Linked DNA regions of Homo sapiens: regions 2, 3, 4 and 5 are each linked to region 1. The links are contacts of gene promoters, found by promoter capture Hi-C in blood cells and fetal thymus (Javierre and others, 2016). All regions are on one chromosome and are shown on one strand. The core of a region is centred on a gene start or on the middle of the fragment in contact, and the rest is flanking DNA. Distances in the headings are between cores, read along the strand shown.

Region 1 (2,688 bases), core at 85-2,584:
CCACCTCTTCGTTCTTCTATGTCTCCTTCGCCATAGTCTTCAATCAGCTGAACCAAGGCATCACGAAACTCAATCATTCCTTGTGCTGGGAGGACAATAGTCTGTTCTTGGCCCAAACTGTGGCCAAAATAACCTATCATGCCAGTCCCCCGCATCATGGTTTGTCTAATCCGTAGGAAGCGACCCCGCTGATTTTCCTTTAGGTCTAGGTAATATTTCCTATTGTCCCTCTCGATATAGTCTGTTTTCAGGACACTGTGAGGATGCTCTTCGGACCCCACCGAGACTGGTGGGGAGGGTGCCGAGTGCTTCTGCCTCCTTCTGGAGCCTTGCTCTTTGCTGTGGCCATGCTCTTGCCGGTGGCCTTTCAGGCCCAGGTGGGCATAGTGCTCGATGAAGTCCCCTAGACAGTCCTTCAGCTCCGCTGCCACAGACAGGGAGAGGGTCAGTTTACTCTTTCTGATGTTGTCCTGCCGGCCTCTCCCTATCCAGACTTCGGCTATCTTTAGGAAGCGGCCCCGGGAGCTTTGCTTCACGTCTAGGTAAAACCTCTTTTTCTGGATGTCCACTCGTTTGGAGGCCAGCTCCTGGATTTCGGCTGCGCCCCCGGCCTGATTAGGGGTGGCTGAGGCCGCGTAGTGGGGGTAGTGGGAGTGCTGGGCCTGGGGATAGAGTCTACTCTTGCTTAGGCCAGAGCCCCCTACATTCTTGCCTCCGCGGCCGCGGCCGCCGCCGCCTCCCCTTCGCCTGGCTCTTTCCATCTTCAGCTGCAAGTAACAAACAGACACACGGGATGGGGTGGGGGAGGGGTGTTGAGAACAATCGCAGACGCCCCTCGGCCTGACCGCCCCGCCGCCGCCCGCGACCCCCACGCCGGGCCCGGCTCCCCCGGCGCCGCAGCGCGGGGCTCCAGCCACTGCCGGCCGGTTGGCGGCCGCCGCTCCGGCTCTGCCCGCGCTCCCCGCATCCCTCCGCCGCCCCCGGGGCCGCTCCCGCACGCCGCCGCCGCCCGTCCCGCGCTCCGCGGCCCCAGGTCTCCAGCCGGCGGGCACTCACATCATCTCTGCCATCACCGCCGCCGCCGATGCCCTTCACGACCACCGCCGCCGCCACCGCCAGCTCTCGGCCCCTCTGCTGCAGCCGCCGCAGCCGCCGCCCCCCGCCTCCTCCCCCGCCGCCGCCGCTCGCACTGCCCCCCGCCGGAGCAGCCGGGCAGGGGCATCGCCCGCGGCGCCCACCGCAGCCGCCCCTCCTGCGGCCGCTGCGGGGGCCGCCGCCTGACTTCGGACACCGGCCCCGCACCCGCCAGGAGGGGAGGGAAGGGGAGGCGGGGAGAGCGACGGCGGGGGGCGGGCGGTGGACCCCGCCTCCCCCGGCACAGCCTGCTGAGGGGAAGAGGGGGTCTCCGCTCTTCCTCAGTGCACTCTCTGACTGAAGCCCGGCGCGTGGGGTGCAGCGGGAGTGCGAGGGGACTGGACAGGTGGGAAGATGGGAATGAGGACCGGGCGGCGGGAATGTTCTCACTTCTCCGGATTCCACCGGGATGCAGGACTCTAGCTGCCCAGCCGCACCTGCGAAGAGACTACACTTCCCGAGGTGCTCAGCGGCAGCGAGGGCCTCCACGCATGCGCACCGCGGCGCGCTGGGCGGGGCTGGATGGGCTGTGGTGGGAGGGTTGCAGCGCCGCGAGAAAGGCGAGCCGGGCCGGGGGCGGGGAAAGGGGTGGGGCAGGAACGGGGGCGGGGACGGCGCTGGAGGGGCGGGTCGGGTAGGTCTCCCGGAGCTGATGTGTACTGTGTGCGCCGGGGAGGCGCCGGCTTGTACTCGGCAGCGCGGGAATAAAGTTTGCTGATTTGGTGTCTAGCCTGGATGCCTGGGTTGCAGGCCCTGCTTGTGGTGGCGCTCCACAGTCATCCGGCTGAAGAAGACCTGTTGGACTGGATCTTCTCGGGGTAAAGTGTCTTCCTATTCCCGTTTTCCCAGCTCCGTGCCCCGGGGTATCTATAGTGCTAGGCTTCTGAGACACGTGGAGGCGCTTAGGCCCGCGGAGCAGGCCCCTGGGCTGTGTTTGGGAGATTCTGGAAAAACAGACTTTCTCCCTTTTCCTTTCCCCTCTGGAGCAGCTGGGAAAGGCGTCTCTCGGAGCTTCCGCCATTCAGAAAGTGTTTCCCCGCCCCTGACGGCCCCAGCTTGATGTTTACCTTGCGCGCTTAGTTAGGATTGCTCTTTCTAGTACGGCCTTTATTATGGCAGAAATTGAGCCACTACAGGTCTGCACAGCAAAGTCGAGGGAAATAACCTGCTGTCTATGATTTAGCAAGTGATGATGGATATTTTTGAGTTCAAATCACTCAGTCTTTAATGGATTTTCTTTTCTTTTTTTCCTAGTTGAATCTCAGTTGTTCTCAGGCTAGGTTTGATATGAAAAATACTACTCCCTATTGAAGAGGGTAATATAATTCTTAGGATGCTAATACAGGAGTCTGTAAGTCGGAGTACTTCAGGCTTTTTATGGTTCGGTACATTTCTTTTTAGGGGTGGGATATTGGGATAAGTAGGACAGTTCAGATCTTGATGTCATTGAATAGTGGTGTCTACCTAAAAGGAAGAGGCTGGGGCACAAAATTATAATTTAAAGTGTTTACTTCAGCCAAAATGAGGACAGCTGCCCAGGACTCATTTCCCAGT
Region 2 (2,688 bases), core at 123-2,622, 4.7 Mb before region 1:
TTCATCTCCCCAACAATCCTATCAGGTAGGACTGTCATCTTCATCTCCTGAGCCTTGGAATCATATTAGGCAGCCTGGCTTCAGAGCCCAGCACTTTTTGTGTTTTTGTTTTTGTTTTGACAGGATCGCATTCTGTCTCCCAGGCTGGAGTGCAGTGATGTGATCACATAGCTCACTGCAGCCTTGACCTACTGGGCTCAAGCAGTCCTCCTACTGCAGCCTTCTAGTAGCTGGGACTATAGGCACGCCATCATACCTGGCTAATTTAAAAAAAAAAATTTTTTTTGGAGAGATGGGTCTCCCTATGTTCTCCAGGCCGAACTCGGAACTCCTGGCCTCAAGCGATCCTCCCACCTCGGCTTCCCAAAGTGCTGGGACTACAGGCGTGAGCCACCGCGCCCGGCCCTGAGCCCAGCTCTTAAGCACGCAGTCCAACACGTTTAGCTGGAGAGACGCCGGGTCACTTCTTGGGCCATACCCTCTCATCACAAACTCAGGTTTCTCTTAGAAATCACTCTTAGTGTCCGCAGTGCCTAGGACTCCCGCCTTGGATCCTGGGGCCCACGAGAAGGTAATTTAATTCACCCAGATAGAACCAGCCCAATCGTGTCCCTCTGAACCCCGTGAACTTTCACCCCGGCTGAGCAGTAAGTCTGCACCGCTGTCCCTTTCTTTGTGGTCTCAGGGCTAATCCAAAGTGACAATTTCCTAAGAAGCAGTACGGGGTTTTTTGTTTGTTTGTTTTTTGTTTTTGAGACGGAGTCTTGCTCTGTCACCCAGGCTGGAGTGCAGTGGTGCGATCTCGGCTCACTGCAACCTCTGCCTCCCGGGTTCAAGCAATTCTCACACCTCAGCCTCCCAAGTAGCTAGGATTACAGGCGCACACCACCACGCCTGGCTAATTTTTGTATATTTTTAAGTAGAGACGGGGTTTCACCATGTTGGCCAGGCTGGTCTCGAACTCCTGACCTTGTGATCCGCCCGCCTCAGCCTCCCAAAGTGCTGGGATTACAGGCATGAGCCACCGTGCCCGGCCCAGGTATTCCTAGAAGACATAGGACCCCATGAATCCTTGCAGGAGAGCACGTAAACTGGACTCCTAAGCCCGCCCCAGAGCCCCGGCGCTAGTGCTCGAGGCTGGGACACTGCTAGGTGCACACAGCCGCGGCCTGGCGCAGGCGGTGCGGACAGAGGGTATGCCATGGCGAGACGCTGGCGCGGCGCAGGCCCTGCCGGCCGGGACACGGAGGGCGGGGCACAGGCGCAGCAGGAAGGGGGCGTGGCCAAGAGCCGCCCGGCCGCTCCCCCGCCCCTCCCCCTCCGCTCTCCGCCCCAGCCCGGCGGCTCCGCCCCCTAGGTGACGTCACTGGCCAGGCCAGCCGGCGCCATTTTGAAAGTGGAGTCGCCTGCCCCTGCCGCTGCCGCCGCCGCCGTCGCTGTCGTAGTCGCCGCCGCCGCTGCCGGAGAAAGAGCACGAGCGGGGAAGCCCCAGAGTGAAATCTAGCATCCTGCCGGCTGGTCTGCCCGCCCCTCCTTCCTTTTCCCCCCGGCCCCCGTCCCCTCCCCCCGCAGGTGCCATCCGCCGCCATCCGCCCTCTCTACCCCCCCATCCCCAGGTGAGGGGGGTGAGTTCAGGAAGCGGAGACCCCGAGGAACCCAGCAGGGTCACCATTTGCAGCGCAACATGGCAGGTAAAGGAGAAATCCCCCTCGCCCCCTGACAAGGCACCGCTTCCTTATTCCTCCCTCCATCACCCCCTAGCGACCGCCCGCGCCTCGCGCAGAGCCACAGGGCGCCCCTCGGGTTTGAGGGAGTAGGGTCCAGAGGGGTGGGGTGGGGGCGGGGAGGGCTCCCGGGAGGCAAGTGGTCACGGTGAGAGTCACTGGGCTTGGAGAACGGGGCTGGCGCCGTGGCGGGGGTGGGGGTGGGGTGTGCCGGCGAGCTTGGGGTGAGGCGTGGGTGGGGCGGGGTGGGGGTGCGTGCAGATTTGTCCCTCCCGCTCGGGAGCCTGGTGGATCTTCTCCCACCTCCCCACCTTGCCCCCCGCCTTTATTTTTTTTTCCTGCAGGTCTTCATTTAATTTCTATTTTTCCCCCTGCTGCAAGCCTTCTTGGGTGTATATACACATTTATTTTGCCTCGAGAAGGAAGAGCGCCTTATAAGTTAAAATACAGTGGGGGCATATGTGTATTTTTTCCCCACTGTAGATGCCAATATTTTTGAGACTGGAAGCCTAAATTTTTTGTTTCGAACCATTTCGTTTCCGTTTCTTCCCTTTTACCGCCGAAGAGTGCAAGGCCTTTCATGTACAGCAAGTTGCATGAAAATAATTTAAACTTTGCGTTTAGCATGTTAGCTTTTTTGCAGATGTCCTTTTCCCAAAAGGGTTTGGTAGAGTTAGTTAAAATAGTTGCGGAGTTCAGAGATATAAATAGCAAGGAGGAGAGAGATTTAGGTAGAAGCTTTGAAGGGGAGGGGAAAGGATGTAGAGAGAAAACCAGTTTGGAAATAAATTTAGCAAGGAATAGGGGTGATGGGGGAGAGAGAAGTAATGTAATTGCTTTGAGAATTCTTTTTGTACATGTTGGTATTGCTAAATCTTTTCCTTCATGTAGTAGAATCAGTTGCAGATTTAGATTCAGTTTCTTTCTCCCTAGAGCCCCAGGACATTTTCAATCATTTCGACCT
Region 3 (2,688 bases), core at 97-2,596, 4.7 Mb before region 1:
ATCCTTAAAAAAAACCTTTTAGCATGGACTTTTTCAAATATATTAAAAAATTAGAGGAATACTTTAATGTATTACATAGCTTCAATAATTACCAACACAAGGTCAATCTTGGACAAGTCCATTTTTAAGTTCATCTGAAGAGTAACTAGCCATTAACATCTGAAAAAGACAAAGGAAGAGAAACTTTAATAGTTATCTAACAGAGGTATTGCAGATAGCCCTGAAACAGACTCACATTTTTGTGGTCATTCAGAGAGTGACAAAGGTGCAATTTCAAATCAGTGTAGAAAGGATGGCTTAAAATTAATATTATTAGGTCAATGGGCTACAAAATTGGGAAGAATTGAAGTTAAATAATTTACAGCATATGGAAAATAAATTTCAGATGGATTAGAGCTCTAAATGTAAAGTTAAGCCTATAAGAAAATTAGAAAAAGTTATAAGGGAATTATAGATTAGTAATCTTGGTGTGACTGTCTCCCCAAGCCATGTAAGAATGATAAATCTGATTACATGAAAACCTTAAGCTTCTACAGAGTGAAAAAAACAAATTAAAAGACAAGTTAGAGACTGCGAGAAACATATGTCACTCATAAATCAGACCAAGGAGACTGGACGAAGACATGGAGATGTGAAGTAGGAGGTGTGCTCAGGAACATAGTTTAATGTCATCCACGTACAGGATAAACGGCTTCCCACGTCATGTCCCAGAAATCGATTAGTCGATGGGATTTGGGTGAGTACTTTCTTCTCTCTGTTTTCCTGAATTTTTCTTTTTTCTTTCTTCCCCTTTCTTCTTTCTCTTTTTTTCAGAATGATGGTGTGTTTGTAATCGACATTTTAAAAATTCTGTAACAATTAAATTTGGGGGCGGCCTTCCCTTGTTTCCCGTATGGAGTGTTGATGTTTCAGCAGCTTTATTTGGAGTTTACACGTGGAGGCACCTGGGTTTGGGGATTCCTTTGTGTCCCCAAGACACCTATTGCAGAAGTGAGTCCTAAGAGGTAGAAAACAGATGCGTGCGCAGGGCTGGGTGAAGCACTGTGGAGCCTGTGTGAGAGGAGGCACGGGCGCGAACACAGGAGCGCACTTCCTCATTCCGTTTCTCCTCATCCTCTCTCCCACTGCCACTGGCATCACTCATCCCATCCGGTCATCCCAAGTCACACGCAAGAGTTCGTTCCCGGCGCGCGCGTCAGCCTGACTCGAGCGTCTCCACGTCCGGGGCCCGCAGGGGAGCGCCCCTGCCCCGTCCGGTCGCTTGTTGTGTTGTCATCACGTGGCCTGGGCGGGCCCTGACGTCAGGGGCAGGGGAGGGACGGCGCAGGCGCAGAAAAGGGGGCGGCGGACTCGGCTTGTTGTGTTGCTGCCTGAGTGCCGGAGACGGTCCTGCTGCTGCCGCAGTCCTGCCAGCTGTCCGACAATGTCGTCCCACCTAGTCGAGCCGCCGCCGCCCCTGCACAACAACAACAACAACTGCGAGGAAAATGAGCAGTCTCTGCCCCCGCCGGCCGGCCTCAACAGTGAGTGCGGGGCCGAGGCTCTGTGAAGGGGATGGGGGAGGAGGAGCAGCCCCGGCCGCCGCCACCGGCGCGGCGCGGGAGGCGGGAGGAGAAGGCAGCTCATTGGCTCAGGCATGGGATGTCCAGGTGACTGACAGCTCCCGTCCCCTGTCAAGAGGAGGGGCGCCTGCCTTGCTCCGGGCCTCTCTGTTGCCTCCTGGGGTCTTGGGCCCGGGGCCGTTTGGGCTCGCGGTCCGGGAGCGGCGCGGGTAGCGCGGATCCCCCTGGTGCGGGGGGTGGTCCCCAGCAGCGGAGCCGGGCGGGGCGGGGCGGGGGCGGGCCTGGGGGGCGGGGAGGCCGGGTGGGCGGAGCGGGCCGCGGAGGGGACGTGGGCCGGGATGGGGACGTGCGGCGGGGACGCCGGGGGATGGACGCGCGGGAGCGGGGCGGGGCGGGCGGCTGCCGCGGGACGTGTCGGGGATCAGGTGTGCGGGGCTCGCGGGCGGGCAGCGTCTGGCGGGCGCGGGAGCCCCCCAGCGAGCATTCCTTTGTTGCCACACGTTTGTCAGGAAAATTCATTTGCTCGTCTAGGGTTGGCTTCAGTCACGTGTGGGGTGAGAGGCTGTGCCTTGCTTCTCCTTTTTCCTTTTTTATTTTTTTATTAGATTTCTCGAAGTTGCCCAAGTGATTTTTTTTTTTTTAAAGCGATGGGTTGTGCGCCCAGTAAAGCTGAGAGCAGCCTCCTGAACCACCCAAGATTGCACACGTCAGGGAGTCTGGGGCCATGCATTTAAAGAAACGGAATTAAAAACGCACTCGGGCAGTTGAAAGTTAACGGACGAGGCTGATAGACAACCCAGGCCAGGGTCTTTTCATAACATTCCGCTGCCCAGACATCTTGTCCTCAGATTGTTCCTAGTCGTGAGAACCGGGAGCCTTCTTGGAAGGGTTCTTGCCTAACCTTTCTTTAATTCAACTCTTGGGAAAGAGGTAATGGGAGCAGTGAGCATATGGCCAGATGAAGTCTTTTCAAAACCACTTGGATGCTTAAAGGTCATGCAGTATCTTTCGTAAGAGGGAGGTGCTTCCAGTGTGGCCTGAAGATTATTTTAGGGAAGAGAGTTTCAGCCCTCACCAGGTAGCGATGGAGTTTGGAGATTTTAAGATGGATGCTGCTGCTCCAGGT
Region 4 (2,688 bases), core at 52-2,551, 4.5 Mb before region 1:
TGATCTTTCTGCCTCAGCCCCAACCTTCCCCTGCCCCCAGTAGCTGGGACCACAGGTGCCCACCACCACACTCAGCTAATTTATTTTGTTTGTTTTTGTTTTTTTGAGATGGAGTTTCGCTCTTGTTGCCCAGGCTGAAGTGCAGTGGCGCTATCTTGGCTCACTGCAACCTCCGCCTCCCGGATTCAAGTGATTCTCCTGCCTCAGCCTCCCGAATGGCTGGGATTACCGGCCCCAGCCACCATGCCCGTCTGATTTTTGCATTTTTAGTGCAGACGGGGTTTCACCATGTTGGCCAGCCTAGTCTCTAATATTTGTATTTTTTGTAGAGACGGGGTTTCTCCATGTTGCTGAGGCTGGTCTCCAACTCTTGGGCTCAACTGATCTGCCTGCCTTGGCATCCCAAAGTGCGGGATTACAGGTGTGAGCCACTGTGCCCAGCCTCTCATTTATTTTTACAAGGATCTCTGAAGTAAAAGTGTGAGGCCTGTTTACCTGTGGTTTTTTGTTTTTTTTTTCACCTTCATCAGTGCAAAGCAGGTGGAAGATTCTCCTCGGCCCTTTTTTACTTTTCCTCATTGCGCTGAATGGTAAATATGGTAAGAAATGCAGGTTGCAGACAGTTCTCTTCCTCGGTCAATTTAAACCATTTGTTTGGTATCTTTTATGTGCCAAATACTCTCTTAGGCTCTAGTCAGAACAGACAAATCAGTTTATACCTTACATTTTTGGATATTTACGAGTGGAAACGTCAGTTATTATGGACTAAGAACCTCATAGCAATGGCTATACAATTGAAGCCAATGAGACAGACACAAGCTCTTGGAAGCTTTTATTACAAAACAAACGATTCTATGGTAAACTGGTAAATAACAAGATATATTTAAACCCATTACGCTCAAACAACAGGGACGGGGGTAGGGAATACAACAAGAATACAAACAATATAATTATAGGTTACTTTGTTTTAAATTAATTTGAGTCTCTTTATTTACTCCCTTGCCAAGTAGTTTTTTTGTGAGCTAATAGGACACTCCTCTCCACTGCCCTGTCCTCCGCAAAGCTGGGACTGACTGTTGGTTTTTCACAAGTAGAGAGAGGCCAAGTAGAAAGGCGTATTTTAAGCTTTCTCAGACTCGTGACTTTAACCATTACCGGTTGACAGCAATACTTGCCGACATCATCTCACCTTGCTTGCGGCATATCAGATTGCTGGAGGGGGAAGTGCTTCACTTTCTCTTTCAGATGCACAGCTAAATTGAACTTGGATGAATTAACCATCGGTGAAACTTTGTGCGTGCCCTACGGCTACTTTCTGGGACTTCAGATTTTTAGAGATATAGGAGTGAAAAGGAGAATTTTACACCTTCTCTGAGTCTGGAAGGACAGACATTCCCCTAAAGTGGCTAAGGTGGTGAAGGGCAGAAAGATTGGAAGTCAGGCCCACAGCAGCTCGAATTATTCCGTATTTATCTAGCTAAGCTTTGCTGAGCAGGTGTGAGCCAATTACATACTCTTTCTTCCCCCACCCCCCAGCCCATGATTACGTAGGGATTCTATGTATCCTTCGACCTCAAGCAGAGAAGCCCGAGCGCTACGAGGGCTGGTCCAGATGTTTTAGTTATTGTACCTGCCAGGGCAACCTCCCACGGGGGTTGGCCTCGGTAGATTCCTGAGGATCAACTGGATCAGCGTTTTTCTTTCCCACGGACCCTGAAGTTAGAGCATCCCAGCATGGCTTGGACAGGCAAAGCTAAGGGGTCCCAGGCCTGCTCAATTGCTAGGACCACGAAGGGGCCTTGAGTGCCGTTTGAAGTGACAAGGCTCTGCCTGGGCAGTCAGGACACTCTTGATTTTAACTCCGATTCAGTAGGTTTTCCCCAAGACTCAGTTTCCCTTTCCTGTGGGATATAAACTCTTCCTTTCTTGCTCCTCCACAGCTCATCTCCTCCTCTCCGCCCCACGGTGCGGTGTGGGTCCCATCCACTGGCACTGTAAACCCTCAGGACCCCGGGGCGCTGGGATCGCAGCAGCTGCCCCCGACAGCGCTGCAGGCACCAGCGAAATGCGCTGCGCCCCCACGCACCCCTCAGGGAGCCGAGGTGGGCGTGACTGTAAAGCGGGCGCACAGAGCGCAGATCGCGCCACATCGGCCTCGGCGGGCTGCGGCTGCTCCCCATTCCTCCGCCCTACTAAGTTCCTCGCGGCCGGAAGGCACAAAAGGATGTTTCAGGGCGGGGTTTCCCATACCCCGCAGCCTTCCCCGGATGCCTCCTTCCCGGCTCGGAGTTGGAAGGGTTTCCTCAGGGCTCTCATTTCCTGCAGCCCGGCGCCTCCACGCGGGCCAGATCCCGTCTCTGCAGCCTCCCCCCGGCCCGCGCCCATTCCCCGCCCCCAGGAGCCGGGCCCGGACGCTCCCGGGAAGCAGCCGCCCTCTCCGGGGCCGGGCGTGGCCGGGCCCTCCCCGCCGGGTTCCCGCCCGCCGCCGTTCCAGTCCTCAGCCGCGCCAGGGCGGGGGCCAGGCGAGTTCAGCGCCAGCAACGGCGGGGGAGGAGGGCCCGGGAGCCCTCCCGGGCTGCGCGGCGCCGGCCGGCGGTGCAGTCGCGCGCTCGCCGCCAGCGAAGCCATTGGCTCGGCGCAGTCACCCCACGCGGGGCTGCCGCGGCGGCCTCCGCGGATTGGCGCGCA
Region 5 (2,688 bases), core at 59-2,558, 3.3 Mb before region 1:
AATGGAGCATTTCTCAGAATGTATTCTTGTCATTAAGGGACGCATGGCTACTGGTATTCCCTATATATGTATACCTATGATAAAGTTAATGTATCAGTTCGGTGGAGTAAGAGATTATTGACAATAACTAATAATAAAATAGAACGATTATAACAACGTACTGTAATAAAAGTTAGGTGACTCTGCTCTCTCTCTCTCTCAAAACCTTATTGTACTGTACTCACTCCTTTTCTTCTTGTGATGATGTGACCACGGAAAGCGAAATACAGGACAAGTAGGGACTACTGTAAAGAGATCCTGTCCACGCCCTCAAGGGACTTACACTCTAGCTCAAGCAGACACCATTTAATACCACGTGATAAGTGCAATGCCAAAGGCATACTTGGAACGTTAAGTGGGTCCCAGGAAAGGAATAGCTAAGCAATCTTGGGGTAGGAGCTAGCATCAGGAAAGGCATCTTGGAAAAGATGGGCCAAAACTGTCTTAAGGGAATTAGCTGGGGGTTGATTTTAGGAAAGGGGAATAACAGGAACAGAACGAAACCAAGTCGGGACACTGCATTTCCTGGGAACGAAGGGCACCCTTTCCTTATCTGTCAAAGATAAGTCAGAAGCATTACCATAGGTCACTTCTGAGATCTGGGACATCAACTGCCCGGAGAGTGGCTGGGTGGACATCCCAGGGTCTTTTTATTGTTTTCTGTTGCATCCCAGACCCTACAACCCCTTCCTGAAAGGGTAAGTCGCGCTTCCCTTAAGAAAAAGTTGTTAGCAGGTGTCTCCTTTCTCACAGGGGATAATTACAAGGGTTCAGCCAGAACAAAGGCCGCAGATGGAAGGTGGGAAGAAGACTTGGGATAAGGTGTGTGGAGGAGCCCACAGGCTCTGCCCAATCCCAGGGAGTGACGGGACGTCTTTCCGATTAGGGGACGAGAACTCCCCGATACAAACATAGCAGTGGCATCGCCCCTCCGCGCCCCCCACGCCATGACGAGGGGACGCCGGGGGAAATCCTGCAGCCGTGGGAGGGACGGATGTGCTGGGGGACCGAGAGGCCGCGGGAAGAGGCACTCGCATCCAGAAGGCATTTTAGAGCGAGGGTCAGGCGCAGCGGCGGACTGCGGGTCCCGGCTTCGGAGCCCGCTGTCCAGCAGGGTCCAGGAGGACGTGGCGCCCACTCACCGCTGCTGCTGGTGAAGTAGAACACCATGATCCCGGGAGCGGTGCGGTGACTCCACCGCGGAGCAGCAGCGCTCAACTCACGAAGCTCAGGATACCAGACTCGCGGCGGCCGCCTGGCCCCCGGAACTCCTCCGTGCACTTCCGGCGGACGTCGGGGCGCGTCATAACGCCGGCCGTGGGCGCCATTTTTAATCCTGGCGAGGCGAAGTGTAGTGGCAAGGAGTTTGGTTCAGTGATTTGTGGGTTAAGGGAAAGAGGCTGGGCATCTTGGGCACGTTAGTTAACCTGTCTGTGCTTCACTTTCCTCAGCAGCGAAATGAAGATGATACTAGAGCAGCTAACTCACAGGATATTTTTTAGGGTTAAATAAGTTAATGGGCGCCAAGGGTTTAGAACATAGCACACAAACGAGTTGTTTCTGATACTCACCAGGACAATATGCCTCTTGGGGATTGGACTTTGTTCTGGCTTAAATCGAAGGCCTGCCATCCCAAACCTCTGAACCTCAGAGGTCCTCCTGCTATAAAGTAGGAATAATCATATTCATGTAAAGCTCCTACAGCACTTGGCTTTGCCCTGATTATTTCTCTTGAGAAAGCACTTTTATCTGAGGAATGTGAGTCCCTTTAAATTACTAGGTCTGGAGAGGCATTAAGATAAGACCCCATCATGTTCTACCACCCCCTTGAGCTATGTATTCATCTACTGAAACTACCTGCTTCTGCCACAGGTAGCTACCTACTAACCTAACACTGCCACACAAGACACTATGACATGACCCACACCCTATAGTTTAACAATGTCTAGCCAATCACTGATGCTTGTAGTTTCTATACATCAATGAGAATGCTTGACAGTTGTGTATCAGCCCACTTCCTGCCCCCCTTCTTCGTCTTTAAAAACCTGCTTGTAGCAAAGGCCAGACAGAGCTCATATCCAAGCCTGCTGGTGGAGGGCGGTGGGGGGAGGGGGGTTGGAATCTTCTGGGCAGCTGTCCCCGCTTTAACTCAAGCAAACTCTACATTCTTTTTTTTTTTGCCTCAGCCTTTTCCTTTTAAACTGACACTCTTACATCACTGTCACTGACTTCATTCTATGAAATTGAGGGCGTCACTTAACGAAATTTATTTACATGCTTGCTTTGACAGCATGTATACTAAAATTGGAATGATACAGAGAACTTTAACATGGCCCCTGCTCAAGGATGACATACAAATTTGTGAAAATTAAATTTGAAAAAATAAACATAAAACTCTAAACTTATTTGAAACTAAAAATGTGCCAGAAACACTGTACCAGGAGCTGGTGACACAAAGATAGTAACAATAGCTAACAATAACCGTTTTAGGAACTTTCTGGTTTTCCAAAGTAAGAATTTAGCTCTGTTCTGTAAATAGCAATTGTTTTGGGTTCTCCGTTGTATTATTTGTAAAATGGGAATGGCAATAGATATTAATGCCTTACAGATTGTGGTAAGAAGTAAATGAAACAAAACATGTAAAGCATC

The links. Contacts are between HindIII fragments. The CHiCAGO score rates a contact against its expected background, and 5 or more counts as called.
Region 2: the fragment with the promoter of PPP2R2A here is called in contact with the fragment with the promoter of PURG in region 1 in 3 of 17 cell types (naive B cells, total B cells and naive CD4 T cells); the score reaches 6.7 in naive B cells.
Region 3: a contact is called between the fragment with the promoter of BNIP3L here and the fragment with the promoter of PURG in region 1, in 3 of 17 cell types (non-activated CD4 T cells, total B cells and naive CD8 T cells). The highest score is 12.0, in non-activated CD4 T cells.
Region 4: a contact is called between a fragment that was not itself captured here and the fragment with the promoter of PURG in region 1, in 1 of 17 cell types (total CD8 T cells). The highest score is 5.8, in total CD8 T cells.
Region 5: the fragment with the promoter of CCDC25 here is called in contact with the fragment with the promoter of PURG in region 1 in 7 of 17 cell types (fetal thymus, total B cells, total CD4 T cells and 4 more); the score reaches 8.5 in fetal thymus.

Annotation. Positions count from the first base shown.
Region 1 is chr8:31,032,022-31,034,709 of GRCh38, forward strand. It overlaps PURG (purine rich element binding protein G), which reads right to left and starts at 1,335. Exons shown (of 2, transcript NM_001323311.2): 1 at 1,057-1,335; 2 at 1-767. The coding sequence starts at 761. It overlaps WRN (WRN RecQ like helicase), which reads left to right and starts at 1,789. Exons shown (of 35, transcript NM_000553.6): 1 at 1,789-1,952. RefSeq lists silencers at 1,317-1,366, 1,527-1,786 and an enhancer at 1,542-2,063. The HindIII fragment of the contact is 5,494 bases long and covers 1-2,688 here.
Region 2 is chr8:26,290,136-26,292,823 of GRCh38, forward strand. It overlaps PPP2R2A (protein phosphatase 2 regulatory subunit Balpha), which reads left to right and starts at 1,373. Exons shown (of 10, transcript NM_002717.4): 1 at 1,373-1,691. The coding sequence starts at 1,685. RefSeq lists a silencer at 1,175-1,524. The HindIII fragment of the contact is 3,300 bases long and covers 1-2,460 here.
Region 3 is chr8:26,381,708-26,384,395 of GRCh38, forward strand. It overlaps BNIP3L (BCL2 interacting protein 3 like), which reads left to right and starts at 1,347. Exons shown (of 6, transcript NM_004331.3): 1 at 1,347-1,523. The coding sequence starts at 1,424. It also overlaps the pseudogene SDAD1P1. RefSeq lists enhancers at 1-1,023, 997-1,296 and a silencer at 1,507-2,096. The HindIII fragment of the contact is 3,600 bases long and covers 526-2,688 here.
Region 4 is chr8:26,574,846-26,577,533 of GRCh38, forward strand. All of the region lies in intron 1 of DPYSL2 (dihydropyrimidinase like 2), which reads left to right. Among named protein-coding and RNA genes, the nearest start is that of DPYSL2, 62 kb to the left of the region's middle. RefSeq lists enhancers at 1,272-1,441, 1,540-2,237, 2,238-2,688 and silencers at 2,042-2,241, 2,282-2,688. The HindIII fragment of the contact is 357 bases long and covers 1,124-1,480 here.
Region 5 is chr8:27,771,332-27,774,019 of GRCh38, forward strand. CCDC25 (coiled-coil domain containing 25) reads right to left here and starts at 1,309. Exons shown (of 9, transcript NM_018246.3): 1 at 1,182-1,309. The coding sequence starts at 1,209. It also overlaps a transcript of ESCO2 not described here and the pseudogene RNU6-1276P. RefSeq lists an enhancer at 993-1,302. The HindIII fragment of the contact is 7,740 bases long and covers 1-2,688 here.